2 separate regions of the Homo sapiens genome follow, and region 1 is linked to region 2. The links are contacts of gene promoters, found by promoter capture Hi-C in human tissues and cell types (Jung and others, 2019). All regions are on one chromosome and are shown on one strand. Each heading gives the region's core, a stretch centred on a gene start or on the middle of the fragment in contact. The rest is flanking DNA. Distances are from core to core; before and after follow the strand shown.

What was found. The method cuts DNA at HindIII sites, captures the fragments that hold promoters and counts their contacts. A contact is called where the count stands out against the background at its distance.
Region 1: a contact is called between a fragment that was not itself captured here and the fragment with the promoter of TCTN1 in region 2, in 1 of the 25 tissues and cell types used here (H1 embryonic stem cells).

What each region holds. Positions count from the first base shown.
Region 1 is chr12:110,574,387-110,579,589 of GRCh38, reverse strand. The region is part of intron 1 of PPTC7 (protein phosphatase targeting COQ7); the gene reads left to right. Among named protein-coding and RNA genes, the nearest start is that of PPTC7, 6.3 kb to the left of the region's middle. RefSeq lists a cis regulatory region at 4,018-4,031 and an enhancer at 3,953-4,097. The HindIII fragment of the contact is 5,210 bases long and covers 397-5,203 here.
Region 2 is chr12:110,611,855-110,616,743 of GRCh38, reverse strand. TCTN1 (tectonic family member 1) reads right to left here and starts at 2,615. Exons shown (of 15, transcript NM_001082538.3): 1 at 2,342-2,615. The coding sequence starts at 2,561. RefSeq lists an enhancer at 2,289-2,338. The HindIII fragment of the contact is 11,470 bases long and covers 1-4,889 here.

The DNA.
Region 1 (5,203 bases), core at 1,752-4,251, 38 kb after region 2:
TGAGGATCAGGACCCTGTGCACAGAGATAAAATTTTGCATGGGCTCTTAGGAACTTTGCTGACTCCATGACTCCTCTGATACCACCTGGAGGTCCATGCATAGGAATCAGATCAAGAACCCCAGCTCTGTACCCTTGAAGGGAATGCCAGCAGACACAGTCAGATACTGGTAGCTGATGTGACCAAAAGGTGGTTGTTAGCCATGTTTGACAAAGATCAAGCATGCACATATGCAAATGGTGGGGGATAGGGGCAGTGAAGGACAGGTTCTCCAGGACTGTCCTGTTGTGGAGGAGCTCTTCCGGACGGCAGTCTTGGAAGCCACCTGAAATAACTTCATGAGTTGGCCTCATTTGATCCTTGGCTGTCCTGAACCAGTTCATATGATGGTGACTTCTATTTAGTTGATACCGTAAAAGGTGATGACTTTTTTTTTTTTTTGAGATAGAGTCTTGCTCTGCCACCCAGGCTGGAGTGCAGTGGCACGATTTTGGCTCGCTGCAACCTCTGCCTCCCAGCTTCAAGCGATTCTTGTGCCTCAGCCTTCCGAGTAGCTGGGACTACAGGCATGTGCCACCTCACCCGGCTAATTGTTTGTATTTTTTTAGTAGAGATGAGGTTTCGCCACGTTGCCTAGGCTGGTGTCGAACTCCTGACCTCATGTCATCCACCTGCCTCAGCCTCCCAAAGTGCTAGGATTACAGGTGTGAGCCACAGTGTCTGGCTAAGGTGATGACTTTGAATGACTCTTTAATACTGCTGTCAACTCTAGAGGTTGGAGTTACAACCTGAATTACATTAAAAGGCTATGTTGAGTAATAACGTTACGTTGAACTTAAGTGCTTTTGAACCTTTTGGTTCTGTAGATAATTAATTTTCTTTGAATTGACACCATATTTATTACTGAGTATCCGTGTAACAGATTATTCACTGTGGTCATCTAGGACTCCTTGACTGGAATGAAAGCTGTTTCTTTCTTTTTATATGAGAAAGAGAAATCTCTTTTGTTTCTTTAATTTAAAATTGATCTGTCCTATTAGTCATGCAGTGACTAATAGTGCTTGGTGCTTCACAACATTTTGTATAGTCCCCACTGTATTTCGTTTCGGAAAAACTGACTATGTTGGGTGTGGTGAGACATAGGAACCACTCCTATCATTCTCTAGAAAATTGTCAAAGGTGCTTTCTCTTTACTAGGTCCAACAGGAGTAAACCAGTACTAGCGGGAGCCGTGTACACTTTTCTTGTTCCTTCTTCCCTGTGGCTAATTCTGAGTTCTCTTATTACTCTACGTGGCATGGCTTCCTAGGTGCACAAAAATATGAGAACTGCATGTTGTAATACCTGGGCTTCCCACAGCCTTATGCTACTTAACAATAGAATCAAAGACTGTTGAGAATTGTAACACTTAGAAACCTTGGAGTCTAGTTTTTTTCACCTCACTGATGAGAAAACAGGCCTCCAGAGAGTCAGATGACTTCCCCAAGGTTACTCTACTAGTTATTGGTGGAACTGAGGCTGACACCTATCTCAGTCTCTCATCTGAGACTCCCTTTCCCAGTCCTGTCCCCGTTAGACCACTGGTCAAGTTTTCTTGATGATATATGTGAATTAAAAACCAGTCAGTCTCCTGATACTTTTGTGCTTCGAATGCTTTTCCTGGGTGTGTGTGTGTGTGTGTTTATAACTTCTTTATTCACTCTGACTCATAACTGATGTGCAACAAAAACTCCTCTGCATGCTAAACCACAGTTTAGAGAAACCACTTATTTTAAAAATGGCAGCCTGGTCTGTGCCATATAAATTTTGACCTCTGAATATTGAGTTGTAAAGTATTTATTATGAAACTGTGGGATGTTTATTTAAGCTTAAACTTGAAACCTAAAAGTGAAATTAAAATAATTTCATATCCCAGCCTTTGGATCTGATTTTGATCGTGGTCAGGATTTTGAAGTGTTTTTGTGAGTAATGTCAGTCTTAAAAGTAGTTGTCTTGAGGTGTAAAGATCATATGAACAAAATTAAGATCTAAATTATATTTAGGAAGTGAATGGATGAGGTAGAATTTGGTGTTTTCAAACAGTCATGATCATTTTAATGTACTTATAGAACCTCTATTCTGAAAGTGAGTTGTCCTTTTAAAAAAGTAGTCACCTTCAGAGTGTGTGTGTGCACCCACTGACTTCAGTCTTTCAAGAAGTCCTTGTTGGAATTTTCCTCAGCTAGATTTCAAGCCATGTCAGGACACCACTCTCATTATATTACCATAATTTTTTTTTCTTTTTTTTTTTAATTTTACTTTTTTTAAATTCCAGGATACATGTGCAGGACATGCCATAATTTTCTTAAAGTCAGATTCCAGCATCATCTACCTGTTGATAGCAAATATGACCCTGAGTGAATTTTTTTTTTTTTTTTTTTTTTGAGACAGAGTCTCGCCCTTGTGCCCAGGCTGGAGAGCAGTGGCGCGATCTTGGCTCACTGCAACCTCTGCCTCCTGGGTTCAAACAGTTCTTCTGCCTCAGCCTCCCAAGTAGCTGGGATTACAGGCACCCACCATTACACCTGGCCAATTTTTATATTTTTAGTAGAGACGGGGTTTCACCATGTTGGCCAGGCTAGTCTCGAACTCCTGACCTCAGGTGATCCACCTGCCTTGGCCTCCCAAAGTGCTGGGATTACAGGCGTGAACCACGTGCCCAGCCCCTTGAGTGAATTTTTAAAAACTGATATGTATAATTCACATTCCATAGCATGTATCCTTTTAAAGTGTACAGTTCAGTAGTTTTTACATTCACAAAGTTGTACAGCCACTGCCACTATCTAGTTCCAGAATGTTTTTCATCACCCCCCAAGAAACCCCCTATCCATTAGCAGTCACTCCCCATCTCCCTGGCAACAGAAAGCAGATTCTGTCTGTGGATTTGTGTTTGAGACATTTCATACAAATGGATCGTGTAATATGTGGCCTTTTCCTTAGCATGTTTTCCCTTAGCATGTTTTCAGAGTTCATCCATGTTGGAGCATGTGTCAGTACTTCCTCCCTTTTTATGACTGAATAATGTTCCATTATATTTATATACCACATTTTGTTGATCCATTCATCTGTTGATGGCCATCGAGTTGTTTCTACTTTTGGCTATTGTGAATAGTGCTGTGCACATTTGTGTGCAAGCTTTTGTATGGACATGTTTTTAATTTGAGGGGATATATACCTAGGAGTAGAATTGCTGGGTCATATTGTAACCCTGTTTAACTTTGTGAGGAATATAGCTGTTTTTTTATGTAGCTATATAATATTAATATACATATAATTATTTTATATAAGGGAAAATACTTTAAAAATTGCAGCAATCAAATATATAAATTCTGAGATCAATCAGTACTTTAAATATGCCTGATTTCATAATGAGCTGTGTGCTTCCAAGAGAAAATTGTGGAATATTAATAAGGAAGTGTGAGTGGATTTAGTAAAAGAGCCATCTAGGACTAATGAAATAGCAGGGTTTAGGAAGCCATTGACTAGTGGCTTTCTGACTATTCTGAGTGGTCTTTCATTCTGTAATACATAAGATTACAGGGTTGATGGATAGAGGAGGTTTGCTGTTTGCTTTTTAAACTTCTGTTCCTTGGTATTTTTCTCATTTTGCTATATAGGTGTGTTGCAGTTTTATAAGTTACTTATTAAGGTACCTTTATTTTTGAAGTCATTTCTTCATTTGTTATAGCTTCAGAGCTACTTTTCCTTTGTTCACAAATCTTTTGAGATTTTCTAGCTTAGTTTAAAATTTTCCTAACTTACAGTTTATCTCTTGATTTGTTAACAGTCTCTGTAAAGGATTCTGGTTGAATCCTTTTGTAGTGCAAGTAATTGAATTTTAGAAGCATAACTGTTTATTAAGGAGGTTTTAAATTGTAGCAGAAGGTAGATTACAGATGCAAGCTGTTGTGGAGCTTTTTTTTTTTTTTTTTTTTTTTTTTTTGAGGTGGGGTTGCTGCATGGGAGGAGGCTGTACCCTGAACTTTAGCACTGGTTTGTGAAACTGGGCAATACATAACCTGAATTGTTGCAACAGTATCCAAATGGAGTTTGTACTAGTGTGTGACACCAGAAGCACTACACCGGGTTAGAATGTGACCTACAACCATGTCCTTTGAGTAGCTCAAATGCTAAAGTTAAGTTCAAGCTAAATGTCAAATTCATTTTATGTTCCCATGCCTTTTAGAGAGAGGTCTTGCCTGGGGCTTTAGGTTCAGAAGTTTTAGGAAAATGCTTTGCAAAAGTAAGTTAGCAGTATTTTATTTCTAAAGAAATTTGACTTTTCAAACTGGAAGTTTTAGTTTATGAAAAATAATGTGAGTTTGCCTTTCAAAATTAGTTGTTAACTTTTGATCTCTTTTTAAGAAGTGATGTCCTGGATCCTAATTTTTGTTGTTAGTAATAAAATTTATGAGTCTGTCTTGTTTGGGAGTCGTCATATATTTTAAAAACCTGATAGGGGCCGGGCACGGTGGGTCACAACCTATAATCCCAGAACTTTGGGAGGCCAAGGCGGGTGGATCATTTGAGGTCAGAAGTTCAAGACCAGCCTGGCCAATATGACGAAACCCCATCTCCACTAAAAGTTTAAAAAAAAAAAAAAAAAAAGCCGGGCATGGTGGCGAGTGCCTGTAATCCTAGCTACTAGGGAGGCTGAGACATGAGAATCGCTTGAACCTGGGAAGCAGAGGTTGCAGTGACCCGAGATCGTGCCACTGCACTCCAGCCTGGATGATAGAGCCAGTCTCTGTCTCAAAATAATAATAATAATAATCTGATAGGGAGTTTTCTGTCTCCCTGAGAACTAAAATAATTTGTTTCCTAACAGTTCACAAAATTGCATATCATAAATCAAGACTTTTTGTAAAAGCTGACCTATTGCAGAGGGCATTAGGCTAACACACGACTTATTATTCATTTCAACTTGAGTTGACAACTGGCACAGCTCTTTCAATTTAGTTTAAAGTTTTTAAAGAAGAAAAGAGATGCTAAATGTTTTTGAATAAAATCTCTAACAGGAAAAATCCCCAACAGGATTGGGGGTTGAGGATTGGGCAATGGGGAAGGACAGAAGCTTTTCTTTAAGGAGTAAAAATGCTTCATTCTTTTTTTTTTCTAAGCCAGTTGTTTCATATCTGACACAAAACATGATTCTCCCATCCTT
Region 2 (4,889 bases), core at 1,366-3,865:
AATTAGGCAAATAATTTATCCACCTGAAAAATGGGGATAACAGTACCCTCATCATGGGGTTGTTGTAAGGATTAAATGAGATACATCATAGGTGAAATGCTTAGCACAGTGCCTGCCACACAGTGAACAGTTAACAAATGAGTTATTACTGTCACAAGTCTAAAGAGAGGTCCTTTAAAAAGGTGAAGACAGGTGACTGGCAGAGTGCAGTGGCTCAAGCCTGTAATCCTAACACTATGGGAGGCCTAGGTGGGCAATCACTTGAGGCCAGGAGTTCAAGACCAGCCTGGGCAACATGGTGAAACCCCGTCCCTACAAAAAATTAGCCGGGCGTGGTGGCATGCAGCACCTGTAGTTCCAGCTACCCGGGAGTCTGAGGTGGGAAGATCACCTGAGCCTAGGAGGTCGAGGCTGCAGTGAGCTGTGATCATGCCACTATACTCCAGCCTGAGTGACAGAGTGAGACCCTGTGACCAAAAAAAAAAAAAATAAAGTGTGAGGACAAGCACAAATTCATCCCCTATACTGGAAAAACAGCCTTGAACACATGCTATAATAATGATGTTTCAAGCATAGCTTTATTTTGGAGAGAAAATGCATTAACAGATGGAGTACTTACATGAATAAAAGACAATCCAGTCCAAAAACTTTAGAGTTTCAGGCATTGAATACTTGGCTTTCTTCTGTCCCAGTTTATCACTGATTTAACTTCCCTACTAATTCATCAAATCAACAATTTAAATATAAAACAGAGCTCTGTTTATATATTAAAATAGCAAATATATTTCTCTGTACTTTTTCTTTCAGATTACTCGTAATTCAGAAAGGAGAGCTTTTGGAGAAATAAAGGTTCAGTAACCGCAGTTAAGTCCTAGAGTTCAAGATCTCAGCTGATGACTTTTTTACTTACTAATACTGAGCCTTAATCAATTTGAGAAAAGATCTTCTTAAGAAGGGATAGGCTGGGCACAGTTGTTTACACCTGTAATCCCAGCACTTTGGAAGGCCAAGGTGGGAGGATCACTTGAGCCCAGGAGTTTGAGATCAGCCTGAACAACATAGCGAGATCTCATCTCTACTAAAAATAAAAAAATAAAAAAAGCAAGCTGGGGGAGCACGCCTGTGGTTCCAGCTACTCTGGAGGCTGAGGCAGAAGGATCCCTTGAGCCCAGCAGATTGAGACTTAAGTGAGATATAATCACGCCACTGCACTCCAGCCTGGGTAACAGAGCGAGACCTTGTCTCAAAAACAAAAAAAGAATAAAAAAAGATTAAAAGTACTGCATATCTATTGGGGTTACTCTCAATTCACACAATCGGAAAATTTTAAAAACTTTTTTTGAGATCATGAACCACTTTAAGAATCGGCTGCTATGAACTCTCATCTCAGGAAAAGGCATATTCACAAAGTTTTGCACTCAATCTTAGCGGGTCACAGTCATTCAGTGAAGTCATCCATGTCAATTTTTTTTTTTGAGACAGTCTTGCTCTGTCGCCCAGTCTGGAGTGCAGTGGTAATTACTGCAACCTCTGCCTCCTGGGTTCAAGCGAGTCTCCTGCCTCAGCCTCCCGAGTAGCTAGGATTACACCATGCCCGGCTATTTTTTCTATTTTTAGTAGAGACTGGGTTTCGCCATTTTGACCAGACTGATCTTGAACTCCTACCTCAAGCAATCCACCCGAGTTGACCTCCCAAAGTGCTGGGATTACAGGCGTGAGCCACGGCGCCAGCCAAACGTCAAATTAGATTATAAAATATTTCCACTAAATGTGTAATTCTAGAATTAATCATTTTCTGAAAAAAATGTTAATTATCCCTACATATGACTCCTAAGAAGTGAGCATAACCCCTCCCTCAATAGCTTTCCACCTCCAATTCAACACAGGAGGAATCCTGGGTTTTTAGAATTCAGGTCAACAGAGAAGGGTCTTAACATAGTCACATTTAGTAAGATAGACCTTTGGCCTCTCTTTAAGTGAAAGTTCAGTGCAGCCAAGGCACTAATTTCCACCATTGTCTCGACTTAATTTCGTCTTGGGCTGCAAGAATTCATTATTGCTCTTTGCATCACTGTTGTCTGGGACCACTTCAAGTATTTTCAAAGGTTTGATACCGTTCCACTTAAACTCTGAGACCCGGTTTTCTCATTTACCTGACAGTGATAGTAACAGCTACTTCTCAGGGTTATTGTTTAGAGAATGGACGTTTATGGAACACTCAGCAGTGTCTGCACACAGTAAGTGCTCAATAAGAGTTAGCTATCATTATTACGTCCTCACCGGGGCTGTCCCCTTGAGGTTGGATCACTGTGGACTCCAGGAGCTGGCACATGGTACCCACCGTCCGTGACTGGGGTAGGCCTGGGGCCGGAGGAGGGCCCTGGAGCCCTGGGAGTCCCGGGGGGCCTGGTCGACGGGAAAGTTCCGAAGGTGGCCAGGGCTGCCTCGGTGGAGTTGAGGCCCTCTGTCGTCACCGCCGGGGTGGCATCGGTCTGGGCGCTCACGGAGGCCCAGCAGCCCAGGAGCACCACCAGGAGCGGCGGGAGACCTCGCGGCCTCATCTCCCAGGGAGTCCCAGCGAGGCCCGCGACATGGACAGCGCGTTGCCCGGCAACCGCGACAGCCAGGCGCGGGGCATCACGGGAAGGGGCTTGCGAAGCCGCGAGAAGCTGCCGGAGACTGACTGGGGCGAAGCCTGGATGAGGCAGGGGGCGGATCCCGGATGAGGCCGGAGGGCGGCGCCTGGGTGAGGCAGCGATGGCAGGCACAGGGGCGAGCACTAGTGAGCGGGTGTGAAGCTGGCGTAAACGAGGGGCGTGTAAATCCCGGCTGTGGTTTCCAACCGGTCCGCGGCGCTTGCTTAAAAAATGCAGATTTTCTGTAGTTCCAGCTACTCGGGAGGCTGAGGCAGAAGAATCGCTTGAACCCGGGAGGTGAAGGCTACAGAGAGCCGTGAGCGTGCCACTGCACTCCAGCCTGGGCGACAGTGTGACACTCTGTCTCAACCAAAAAAAAAAAAAAAAAAAAAAAAGACGGATTTCCAGGTACCACCTCAGGAGATCCTGAGTCAGTTAGTCTAGGGCAGGACCCAGGAATCAGTTTTTGGGGGATTTTTTTTGAGACAGGGTCTCACTCTGTCGCCCAGGCTGGAGTGCAGTAGCGCGATCTCGGCTCACTGCAGCCTCGACCTCTGGGACTCAAGCAATCCTCCCACTTCAGCCTCCTGAGTAGCTGGGAACTCAGGCGCGCGCCACCATACCCAGCTAATTTTTGTATTTTTTTTTTTTTTTTTTTTTTTTTGTAAAGACGAGGTCTCCCTCCGTCGCCCGGACTGGTATCGAACTCCTGGTTCAAGTGATCCACCTGCTCCAGCCTCCTGAGTCCTGAGTAGTTGGGATTACAGGCGTGAGCCACCACTCCCAGCCAGGAATAAATATTTTTAACAAATGTCCGGACGCAAGCAGATGAGTTGGACGGAAATTTAGGAAGCGCCGTCCCAACGCCACTAACGTGGGTGTTTGGAAGGAGCACAGGGATCTGTGAGATCACTGTCTCTGAATTTTCTCTATCCCAGACTCTGTCAACACTGGCTTCACCTTTTTATTTTAGCTGCATCTCACAAGGTTGCCAGATAACTTCTGTCTGCTGTATTGTGATAAAGGGGACAAATGAACACTTAATACCTTTTATTATTTTTTGTAGAGAGGGGGTCTCACTATGTTGATCAGGCTAGTCACAAACTCCTGGCCTCAAGTGATCCTCCCGCCTCAGCCTCCCAAAGAGCTAGGATTACAGGCATGAGCCACCACGCCAGGCCTAAGAACCTATTTAAAGACAAAAATCTTTTACAAAAATTAAGTAAAATAATTTAGACATCTTAAAGGGGAAAACAAAGCAAATCCACTGTAATGCTACAAAACGACCTGGAGACCCTACGATTTAGGAAACCCTCTCCATTCTGAATGGGCTTATTTAGGAGGTACCCAAGCCCAAGAATGTTGGCTGCACCTTTGACACTTAATCTCCATACAGTTCAGAAGTAGATGTCGAAGTACTTAGACGTGGCCAGGCACAGTGGCTCACACCTGTACTCCCAGCCCTTTGGGAGGATCGCTTGAGTCCAGGAGTTGAGACCAGCCTGGGCAACATGGTGAAACCACATCTCTACAAAAAATACAAAAATTAGCCAGGTATGGTGGCACATTCCTGTAGTCCCAGCTACTCAGGAGGCTGAGGTGGAAGGATCGCCTCAGTCTGGAGAGCTTGAGGCTGCAGTAAGCCATGATAGTGCCACTGCACTCCAAAACAAAAAAACCTTAAACATAACACAGTATTTATTCAAGAAATGTATATACCAATTCAAAAGGATGTCAAACAGTATATATATCTAGTTTATTAAATGTATTTAGCAAAACTAAATCATCAAAGTGATATCTTTAGCACCTTCCTGTGGCATTCCAGAGACAGTGTATAAAAATATAATTGAATCACTCAAATGTGTAAGACAGATACTTCTTTTTTTCTGCAAAGGATTGCTTTAGCATCTGACTGAAATTCTGGACTGCTTTTAATAACTGATTAAATGCTTCCCCTTTTAAAAAAAATAACCAAAAGTAGGCCGGGCATGGTGGCTCACGCCTGTAATCCCAGCACTTTGGGAGGCTGAGGCGGGTGGATCACGAGGTCAAGAGATCAAGACCACCCTGGCCAACATGGTGAAACCCCGTCTTTACTAAAAATACAAAAATTAGCTGAGCATGGTGGTGGGCACCTGTAGTCCCAGCTACTCAGGAGGCTGAGGCGGGATAACTGCTTGAACCTGGGAGGCAGAGGTTGCAGTGAGTCGAGATCACACCGCTGCACTCCAGCCTGGTGACACAGCGAGACTC